Regions from separate parts of the Homo sapiens genome. Here region 2 is linked to region 1. The links are contacts of gene promoters, found by promoter capture Hi-C in human tissues and cell types (Jung and others, 2019). All regions are on one chromosome and are shown on one strand. Each heading gives the region's core, a stretch centred on a gene start or on the middle of the fragment in contact. The rest is flanking DNA. Distances are from core to core; before and after follow the strand shown. Region 1 holds the start of TRIM60 (tripartite motif containing 60). Region 2 has its middle 14 kb from the start of TRIM61.

What was found. Contacts are between HindIII fragments. The study calls those that stand out against the background at their distance.
Region 2: a fragment that was not itself captured here is called in contact with the fragment with the promoter of TRIM60 in region 1 in 3 of the 25 tissues and cell types used here (H1 embryonic stem cells, dorsolateral prefrontal cortex and neural progenitor cells).

What each region holds. Positions count from the first base shown.
Region 1 is chr4:165,029,651-165,035,141 of GRCh38, forward strand. TRIM60 (tripartite motif containing 60) reads left to right here and starts at 2,349. Exons shown (of 3, transcript NM_152620.3): 1 at 2,349-2,462. RefSeq lists an enhancer at 1,851-2,507. The HindIII fragment of the contact is 10,604 bases long and covers 1-5,491 here.
Region 2 is chr4:164,988,709-164,994,016 of GRCh38, forward strand. No RefSeq gene overlaps it. Among named protein-coding and RNA genes, the nearest start is that of TRIM61, 14 kb to the left of the region's middle. RefSeq lists an enhancer at 2,290-2,983. The HindIII fragment of the contact is 5,765 bases long and covers 1-5,308 here.

The DNA of each region.
Region 1 (5,491 bases), core at 1,099-3,598:
AAAAGAACTTCCTCATTGAAGATTTAAGAGTTAAAAAGTGAACTGCACATGTTTATGTGTACATACATATGTTAACATAATACCATAAGAAAAATTTTAATTTTCATTAAATAAAATACGTAATTTTTATAGGTAATATATACATATCATGTAAAATATTTACATATAATATATACATATCATGCTACTATAATACAATAAAAATATTTATAATTATATGAAATTTTAAATATATATTAAAATATATGTGTTTCTAAAGTACATAAGTATTGCTAAAAATTAAAATACATGAGTCAGCAAGGTTCTTTCCCATGTGGCTACCCCCAGCTTAGGTCCTGCTGAAGGCTCCATGCCTTTTACTGAGTCTCCCTCACCTGTACCCCTAAGGTGATTCTCACTGAGATATTCTGTTCCCAGCAGAGGCTCAGAGATGCCCTGTGTGCACTAGTCAGGGGTACACAGAGGACCATGAGCTCCTTATGTCCTTGCAGAACAGATTCGTGGTCCTCCATCCAGAGCAGGAGCACAATACAATCCATCTTTTCTGTTTCTGTTTTGAGTCAGTCTCGCTCTGTCACTCAGGCTGGTCTTGAACTCCGGGCCTCAAGCAATCCTCTCCATTTGGTCTTCCAAAGTGCTGGGATTACAGGCGTGAGCCACCCGCCCAGCCTTTGGTTTAATTTTATGGTGGAATCTGGCCCCATTCAGCCTTAAGCCTTTAGAGTTTCCTTTCCTTCATCCCATTGGTCAGACTCCAGATCAGTGTCCTCCCAACCACAGCCTTTATCATCCTCTCTGTTTGCATCTTCTGCACTAAGGTGTGAAGATTTGAAGATTTCACTTATTGTTCCCTGTTCCTACTTCCCACTCTTCCATCAAATCTCAGACTTCATCACAAGAGGGTATTTTTCTGGGAAGGTAGCTCTAAGTTATTTTATTTATTTATTTTTTATTTTTATTTTGAGACTGAGTCTCACTCTATTGCCCAGGCTGGAGTGCAGTGACCCGATCTTGGCTCACTGCAACCTCCGCCTCCCGGGTCCAAGCTCTTCTCCTGCCTCAGCCTCCCGAGTAGCTGGGATTACAGGCATGCACCACCATGCCCGGCTAATTTTTTGTATTTTTAGAGAGACGGGGTTTTGCCACTTTAGCCAGGTTGGTCTCGAACTCCCGACCTCAGCTGATCCGCCCGCCTTGGCCTCCCAAAGTGCTGGGATTGCATGTGTGAACCACCGCGCCTGGCCAAGTAGCCCTACATTTTAAACAGAAAAGTGCGCCGGCCAGGCGCGATGGCTCACGCCTGTAATCCCAGCACTTTGGGAGGCCGAGACGGGTGGATCACGAGGTCAGGAGATCGAGACCATCCTGGCTAACAGAGTGAAACCCCGTCTCTACTAAAAAATAGAAAAAATTAGCTGGGCGTGGTGTCGGGCGCCTGTAGTCCTAGCCACTCGGGGGGCTGAGGCAGGAGAACAGCGTGAACCCGGGAGGCAGAGCTTGCAGTGAGCCGAGATCGTGCCACTGCACTCCAGCCTGGGCAACACAGCGAGACTCCGTCTCAAAAATAAATAAATAAATAAAAAAGTGCTATGCCGATTCTATGACTTCTTCTGCAAATATTAGCCTCTTTCACTGTCTCATTTACCAAGTTATAAGACTTAAGAGGCTCCTCACAAGGACTAATCCTTCAGCCTTGAAGATTTTACCGTCAAGTTTGTCCAACAAACTCATACTCGTCCCTTAAAATCTACTTTAAATATCAATTCCTCAGACGAGACCTTGGTGAGTCTTAGTTGGTAGGGTGGGGCCTAATCTCCAGGGTGGTAACTACGCAGCCTCTCAACCAGAGACGCAAACTGATCCAAAGAGCTGATTATTCCTCTTGCATTTTAAAACTAACCACCCTGGCCGGGCGCGGTGGCTCACAGCGAGGCAGGCGGATCGCTTGAGCCCATGAGTTCGAGACCAGCCCGGGGAACGTGGCGAAACCCAGTCTCCACCAAAAAATACAACAATCAGCTGGGCGTGGTGGCGCGCGCCTGTGAAGTGGGAGGATCGTTTGAGCCCGGATGGTCGAGACTACAGTGAGCCGAGACCGCACCAGACCCTGTCTCAAAAAAAAAGAAAAAAAAAAAGTTGCTCATAGGAATGAAAAATCTGAAAAGATTGCCATTGTGATTTAAATGACCCACTGAAGCCATCAGGGACCCCACCACGGAGGGAACCGCCCTAGGCTCTCCTCAGAATCTTCTCACGCTCCCTGCACCCTGCGGCATTGAGCATGCTCAGGCCTTTCCCGCCCACTTCCGGTGGAGCAGCCAACCACCGCGCTGGTCAATTGTATGCCTAAAACTCGAAAACCAAGGCGCCCAGGGTTGTGTGAGGGTTTCCGCTCTGCGCCCCGCGGGGTTCCATGGGTCCTGCACAGCATCAGGCCTGAGCCGCCGGTCCAACTGCTCCAGGTAAGCTGGGAGGGCCGCAGGAAAGGCGCAGTAGGGCCTGGCGGGAGGCTTACTTAACTGGGCAGGGGCTTCCTGAGTATCAGCTGTGCCCAAACCTCGGGGTCGCGACCTGTCCACGACTGAGCTCAGACTGTGGATCCTTTTTTTTGTTTCTGAGACGGAGTCTCGCTCTGTCACCCACGCTGGAGTGCAGTGGCGCAATCTCGCCTCACTGCAACCTCCGCCTCCCGGATTCAAGCGATTCTCCTGTCTCAGCCTCCTGAGTAGCTGGGATTACAGGCGCTCGCCACCACACCCAGCTAATTTTTGTATTTTTAGTAGAGACGAGGTTTCTCCATGTTGGCCAGGCTGGTGTCGAACTTCCGACCTCAGGTGGTCCGCCCGCCTCGGCCTTCCAAAGTGCTGGGGTTACAGGCGTGAGCCACCGTGCTCGGCCGGATTCTGTTTTCGCCGCGGAGGCAGTGGGACCCCGATGATTGAACTTTAAAGAAGATTCTGATCTGAACACCAGTTTGGGAAGTGGCCACGTGATCTCCAAAAATTATGGTGGGAGCGTTAAGGAAGGACCTCCCACCCTACAGCGCCAGCACTTCTCTGGCGGATTTTGTCTCCTTCCGTCCTCACAAGGATCTGGCTGTCAGGAAACTGCTACGGATGAGAAAGTTTAGGCTCACTTACGTTTCGTATCATCTAAAGTAATAGAGGTTGAATCTTGAGATCTGGGAATCTCCCACAGGTTTGATTTATATTCACTGAGCCCACACTATGAACCAGCACAAGAATCAGAGTAGGAGCCAGGCGCGGTGGCTCACACCTGTAACCCCATGAGGAGGCCGATGCGGGAGGATCGCTTGAACCCAGGAGTTCTAGCTCACGCTCGTGCCTGGGCAACATAGTGAGACCCCTGTCTCTACAAAAAAAAAAAAAAAAATCCGGGCATGGTGGGGCGTGCCTGTGGTCCCAGCTACTCGGGAGGCTGAGGTGCGAGGATCGCTTGAGCCTGGAGGCAGAGGTTGCAGTGAATGGAGATCGCGCCACTGCACTCCAGCCTTGGCGACAGAGTGAGATCCTGTCTCAAAAAGTAAAATAAATAAGGTAATAGAGGTTGAATTTTTCTTTTTTAATGTGACAAGATCTCAAGCAGTAGAGGTTGAATTTTGAGAGTAGGGAATCTACTGCAGGTTTGATTTATTAGCCTAATAATTATTGAACACACGTTGTACACCAGCATAAGAATCAGAGTTGGTAATTCAGTTGTGAGGAAAATAAGGAAGAATTCAGACCGTGAACTGTACTCTCCAGTGTCCTTAACCAAAGGTTGACAAAAATAAATGTAAAAATCTCAACTGTAATCTGCAGTATGATAGATATGTGGAGTCAGGAAAAGAGTAAAGTCCAGATGTTGGTGAGTCTTGTAATACTTAAGAGTAAGAAAAGCCATTCCATTGGAAATCGGAAGGTTATAGGATTAGATCTGTGTTTGGAAACTATAGAGTTATGGAATTGATTGACGGGATAGAGCATGTCAAAAATAAAGCCAGACACTGGGTAGTCATAAGGACAGATTTTAATCAGTACTGTACTATTGCAATAGGGAGAATTCAGCATGAACAGAACTCAACTGTGATTTGTACAGAGGTGACCAAGTGCTTCAAAGGGGAACTGGGGAATGAAGGTAGTGAGTTGGCGCTCAGTAGAGTCAGGGAAGTGAAAAATTACAAAAAGTGGGAAAGGGGTGGTTGGGTCATGTGAAACACACCCAGGTTTGCTCACTGGCACTTAAGGAAGTCAGGCCCCAACTCTCCCATAGATGCTGGGAGACAGGGGCCTTGTCTTCAGGTATCAGAAGATAGTTACTATAGTAGGCTAATGTTTATAGCTTGGACTGAGAAGAGTGGCTTATAATGCTGTTCTTTAAACTTCATTGCCTGAGTCTGGAAGATGGGTTAGGGGAAGCTGGAGTGTGTGGGGAAGGACGAACCATTGAGTTCCAGGATCTATGCAGGAATGTTCCCTGCACCTTTTTATTTTAAATGAAATACACTTTTTTTTTTTTTTTAAGATGACTCTCACTCTGTCGCCCAGGATGGAGTGCAGTGGCGTGATCTCGGCTCACTGCAACCTCCACCTCCTGGGTTCAAGCAATTCTCCTGCCCCAGCCTTTCTGAGGAGCTGGGATTACAGGCGCACGCCACTACACCTGGCTAATTTTTGTATTGTTAGTAGAGACGGGGTTTCACCATGTTAGTCAGGCTGGTCTCGAACTCCAGACCTCATGATCCACCCACCTCGGCCTCCCAAAGTGCTGGGATTACAGGCGTGAGCCACTGCGCCCGTCCATGAAATACCCTTTTTTACAGCAATGTGGTTCTTTCTTATAATTTAAAAAATTCCAGTCATATTTTGCAATGTATTGGCTGTACAGCTTTGTTCAGAATGCTTAAAACTTCCTTTTCAAATTTACTCAGCCCCAAAGCATCCATTAAACATGGTGTGTTAAAACAAGGATTAGGAGCTTTTGCAATGACATTGTTATTTATGAAAATGTTAAATTGGAAGGTGGGAAGAGTTAAAGGACACATTATTATTTTATTTTAATTCCTTATGATTGAAAAATATTATAATTTTTAAGATGTAATAATACCTTACTGTCCCTTCAAAATTGGAATGTACATGACATTTTCTGCCCGACTACTGCTATGAACAGTTAACACCTTTTCTAATTAGGAGCAGTGAGAGATATAGTAGCTTTTAGACCAAAATAGTACTATACTATACATACTACGACAGTTAATGACATAAATGTAGGCAGTTTGGCTAGATTTCTAAATGCACTTTTCACTTGGAAATTTTATAAGATTTTGTAATAATACCTGTATTAGTATCCCCAAGACCACCCCTAGGTTTGGTGATTTGCTAAAATGACCACAGGAGTCAGCATAGTATTATTTGAGGTTATAACTTAATTTTTTTGAGGTATCTCTCTCTGTCACCCAGACTGGAGTATAATGGCACAATCATGACTCACT
Region 2 (5,308 bases), core at 1,417-3,916, 41 kb before region 1:
GCTGTAGATTAAAATTAATAATGAAAAAATGTACATAGGGCAGGGTCCAGGAGACAGCAGGCATAAGCTCTAGTTGTCTTCTTCCGTAACATGTAAGTGAAGAGAAAAAATATAAGCTAGTCTAGGATATGTAGTAATACTACTGTGTGAATACACACCCATACATGAAAAAGTCTGTGTGATGGAAGAATGATTTCAAAATAAATCTAAATCTGTGTGGAATCATGGATGGGTGATTTTTACTTTTTCCTTTCACTTTACTAGTTCTGGGTCACAGTCAATTAACAAAAATATTATCCAAACCCCTACTGTGACTGTTTACTATTTGCTAAGTCTTTGCTTTCTCATTAAATTCTAATTCAACTGTGAGGCCAGCACTGTTTCTAGGAGCCGGGCTCCTTAGTGCAAATGGGAGAAAGTACTATAGTGCATTTGGAATGTTCTCAAGCACAGCCAGTGAGTGTGAAGAGTAGGATTTTGTAAATTTTAAAAAATATGTATTACTTGAAAACAAAAGTATTACTGGGAGTCATGGACTAGATGTTTGCATCCCCCTAAAATTCACATGTCCAAACCCTGACTCTCGATGCAATTGTATTAGGAGATGAAATCTTTATCAGGTAATTAGGTTTCGATGAGGTCCTAAAGGAGGAGCCCCCATAATGGGATTAATATCTTTTTGAGAAAAGGAAAAGAATTCCCAGGTACCTCACTCTGCCTTGTAAGGTTATAGCACTAAGGCAGCCTGCAGGCCAGAAGAGGGCCCTCACCAGAAGCCCACCAGGCTGACACCCTGATCTTGGGATTGTCCACCCCTGGAATTGTCATAATTAAATGTCTCTTGTTTAAACCACCAAGTCTATTGTAGTTTTTTATAGCAGCCCAAGCTGAGTAAGACACTGGGTAAAAAATATTAGCAAAAAGCTTGTGATCTAGCAGCTGCTACCTCAAAAATCACTGGTATTAAATTACCTTCCCAGTCTTCACCCATTATTCACTCTGGGTGAGTTATTACCTCATTTGCCTGAACTACCGGTCCACAACTTTTAGCACGTTGTATTTTAGAAAATGTATAAGCACAGATGGGGGCTTTGAGCTCTATGTTTTCAAAGACTTATTTCTGTATTCCTGGTCCAATAGTAGGATGGTATAATAAATCTTGATAGCAACTAGGAAAATACATCTTCTCTGTATGTACTTCCTTATTTAGAATGGCTTCGATGCCTCCTGGACAATTACTTTGGCATAGGAATTTTACTATCACCAGATACACATCACCAGAGTTCTTGTAAACATTTGCTTGAAAACACATGAAATTTATATATTAACTGGAGAGAACTGAGACCCTCAAACTCAAGATCCTATTGAAGGTAAGTAACTTAGACTGAGGGTGAATCTTATTTCTTGATTTTAAGTCAATAACAAGGGAATGTTGTTAGCTCAGCACAGCTCCCTCCCAACTCAGACTCCACCGTCCAATGTCCCAAACCTCACCGCGCTTGAGGAGCAGGCTGGGTTGAATATTGAGCACCAGCTTCATGAAACTCCTGTCTGATCACTTCTACTTCTGGAAAGCTCACTTGTATTCTCGGAGTTTCCTTAGCTGTGTTAATTTAAATATATCTATATTGATGTTTTCCCCTCTCTAACAACCATATATTTCCACAGGAATGGTGTGGGGAAAAGCAAGAGAGATCAGATTGTTACTGTGTCTGTGTAGAAAGAAGTAGACATAGGAGACTCCATTTTGTTCTGTACTAAGAAAAATTCTTCTGCCTTGAGATGCTGTTAATCTGTAACCTTACCCCCAACCCCTTGCTCTCTGAAACATGTGCTGTGTCAACTCAGGGTTAAATGGATTAAGGGCGGTGCAAGATGTGCTTTGTTAAACAGATGCTTGAAGGCAGCATGCTCATTAAGAGTCATCACCACTCCCTACTCTCAAGTACCCAGGGACACAAACACTGCAGAAGGCCGCAGGGACCTCTGCCTAGGAAAGCCAGGTATTGTCCAAGGTTTCTCCCCATGTGATAGTCTGAGATATGGCCTCATGGGAAGGGAAAGACCGACCGTCCTCCAGCCCGACACCCGTAAAGGGTCTGTGCTGAGGAGGATTAGTAAAAGAGGAAGGAACCGCCTCTTTGCAGTTGAGACAAGAGGAAGGCATCTGTCTCCTGCCCATCCCTGGGCAATGGAATGTCTCGGTATAAAACCCGATTGTATGTTCCATCTACTGAGATAGGGGAAAACTGCCTTAAGGCTGGAGGTGCGACATGCGGGCAGCAATACTGCTCTTTAAGGCATTGAGATGTTTACGTGTATATATATCTAAAGCACAGCACTTAATTCTTTACCTTGTCTATGATGCAGAGACCTTTGTTCACGTGTTTATCTGCTGACCTTCTCTCCACTATTATCCTATGACCCTGCCACATCTGCCTCTCCGAGAAACATGCAAGAATGATCAATAAATACTAAGGGAACTCAGAGGCTGGCGGGATCCTCCATCTGCTGAACGCTGGTCCCCTGGGCCCCCTTATTTCTCTCTCTATACTTTGTCTCTGTGTCTTTTTATTTTCCAAGTCTCTCGTTCCACCTAAGGAGTAACACCCACAGGTGTGGAGGGGCAACCCCCCCCTTCAGAATGGAAGTACATGACAGCACTCCTTTAAAACAATATGGTATCTCTGAAATGTCCACATAGCTCCTGGAGATGCCACACAAGCCACTGGAAAGTGCTGCTCTCCAAATTTAGGAAATTAAAATCAGACAACACTGTTTCAGTTGCTGTTTTAATTGACTGGATCTTATTTAAATTTGGTGTGAGATGAATCCTGTTCTAATTCATACTGCACAGTTCAGGAAACTTGGTGCGGGAGGTTAGGTGAGTCCCAGGGCTATGCCGCCTCTGAGTGGGAGGAGCACCTGGTGCCTTCTCCTCTAAGCTGTAGCACCTGTGGCAATGGAGCACTGCTCCCAACTTCAGAAATAGAGCATTTGCTGTGTATTTTGTATTATTTGATAGCACCATTGTTGAGTGAAGCTTTGCCGGGGACCCTCAAACTCCAACCTCTTTTTGGTTCCCTTGAGGTTACCTTGCTATTCTGCCCTCAGACTGCTTTAAATATCACCTTAGGAATTAGGACAAGGCCGGGTGCAGTCGCTTAGGGCTGTAATCCCAGCACTTTGGGAGGCTGAGGCTGGTGTATCACCTGAGGTCAGGAGTTTGAGATCAGCCTGGCCAACATGGCAAAACCCCGACTCTACTACAAATACAAAAATTGTCCGAGCGTGGTGGCTCGCCCCTGTAATCCCAGCACTTTGGGAGGCCGAGGAGAGCAGATCACCTGAGTTCGGGAGTTTGAAACTAGCCTGACCATTATGGAGAAATCTCATCTTTACTAAAAATACAAAATTAGCTGGGCGTGTTGGCACATGCCTGTAATCCCAGCTACTCAGGAGGCTGAGGCAGGAGAATCGTTTGAACCCGGGAGGCGGAGGTTGAGGTGAGCCGAGATCACGCCATTGTACTCCAGCCTGGGCACCAAGAGTGAAACTCCATCTCAAAAGAAAAAAAAAATTAGCCGGGCATGGTGGCGAGCACCTGTAATTCCATCTATTCGGGTGGCTGAGGTAGGAGAATCTCTTGAACCCAGGGGTCGGAGGTTACAGTAAGCCAAGATTGTGCCATTGCACTCTAGCCTCGGCAACAAGAGGGAATTCCATTTCAAAAACAAAAAAGCAAACAAAAAAAGAATTATGGCAGGGCACGGTGTCTCACACCTGTAATCCCAGCAGTTTGGGAAGCTGAGGTAAGTGAATCACTTGAGGTCAGCCTGGCCAACATAGTGAAACCCAGTCTCTAGAAAAAACATAAGAATTAGCCGGGCATGGTAGTGGTGCGCCTGTATTCCCAGCTACTCAGGAGGCTGAGGCAGAAGAATCGCTTGAACCCAGGAGGTGGAGCTTGCAGTGAGCCGAGATCTCACCACTGCACTCCAGCCTTGGCAACAGAGTGAGACTCCACCTCAAAAAAAAAAAAAAAAAAAATTAATCTAACCCAAATATTGTAGTTTACATTTTTCTCTTTTGAGACAGAGCCTCACTCTGTCACCCAGGCTGGAGTGCAGTGGTATGATCTCAGTGCACTGCAACCTCTGCCTCCCAGATTCAAGCAATACTCCAGCCTTAGCCTCCTAACTAGCTTGGATTAAAGGAGTGCACCACCATACTTGGATAATTTTTGTATTTTTAGTAGAGACAAGGTTTCACCATGTTTGCCAGGCTGGTCTCCAACTCCCAACCTCAAGTGATCTTCCCACCTCATCCTCCCAAAGTGTTGGGATTACAGGCATGAGCCACTGAGGCCAGCCCAGCATCACTTTCTAATTCCAGAACATTTTCTTTTTTTTTTTTTTTGAGAAGGAGTCTCACTCTGTCGCCCAGGCTGGAGTGCAGTGGCTTGATCTCGGCTCACTGCAAGCTCCACCTCCCGGGTTCACGCCATTCTCCTGCCTCAGCCTCCCGAGTAGCTGGGACTACAGGCGCCTGCCACCATGCCCAGCTAATTTTTTGTATTTTTAGTAGAGACGGGGTTTCTTTTTTTCTTTTTTTTTTTTTTTGAGACAGAGTTTCGCTCTTGTTGCCCAGGCTGGAGTGCAATGGCGCCATCTCGGCTCACTGCAACCTGCGCCTCCTGGGTTCAAGGGATTCTCCTGCCTCAGCCTCCCAAGTAGCTGGGATTACAGGCATGCGCCACCATGCCCGGCTAATATTGTACTTTTAGTAGAGACAGGGTTTCTCCATGTTGGTCAGGCTGGTCTCGAACTCCCGACGTCAGGTGATCCGCCCGCCCCAGCCTCCCAAAGTGCTGGGATTACAGGCGTGAGCCACCATGCCCGGCCAGAGATGGGGTTTCACTGTGTTAACCAGGATGGTCTCCATCTCCTGGCCTCGTGATCTGCCCGCCTCAGCCTCCCAAAGTGCTGGGATTACAGGCTTGAGCCACCGCGCCCGGCAATTCCAGAACATTTTCATGAGCCCAAAGGGAATTCTTTGCCTAGTGAGAGGTCTCCTTCCTCTGGGCCTTGAAACCAAGCATCCATCCCCTTTCTGACTGTATAAACTATTTTGGTTAACTAACATAAATGAAACCATGCAATGGTAGCCTTTTGTATCTGGTTTCTTTCAGTAAGCATATTGTCTGCAATGTTCATCTAATGTTGAAGCATGGGTCAGTATTTTGTTCCTTTTTTGGGTGACTAATGTTGCACAGTATTGTTATACTACTTTGTTTATTCATTCATAG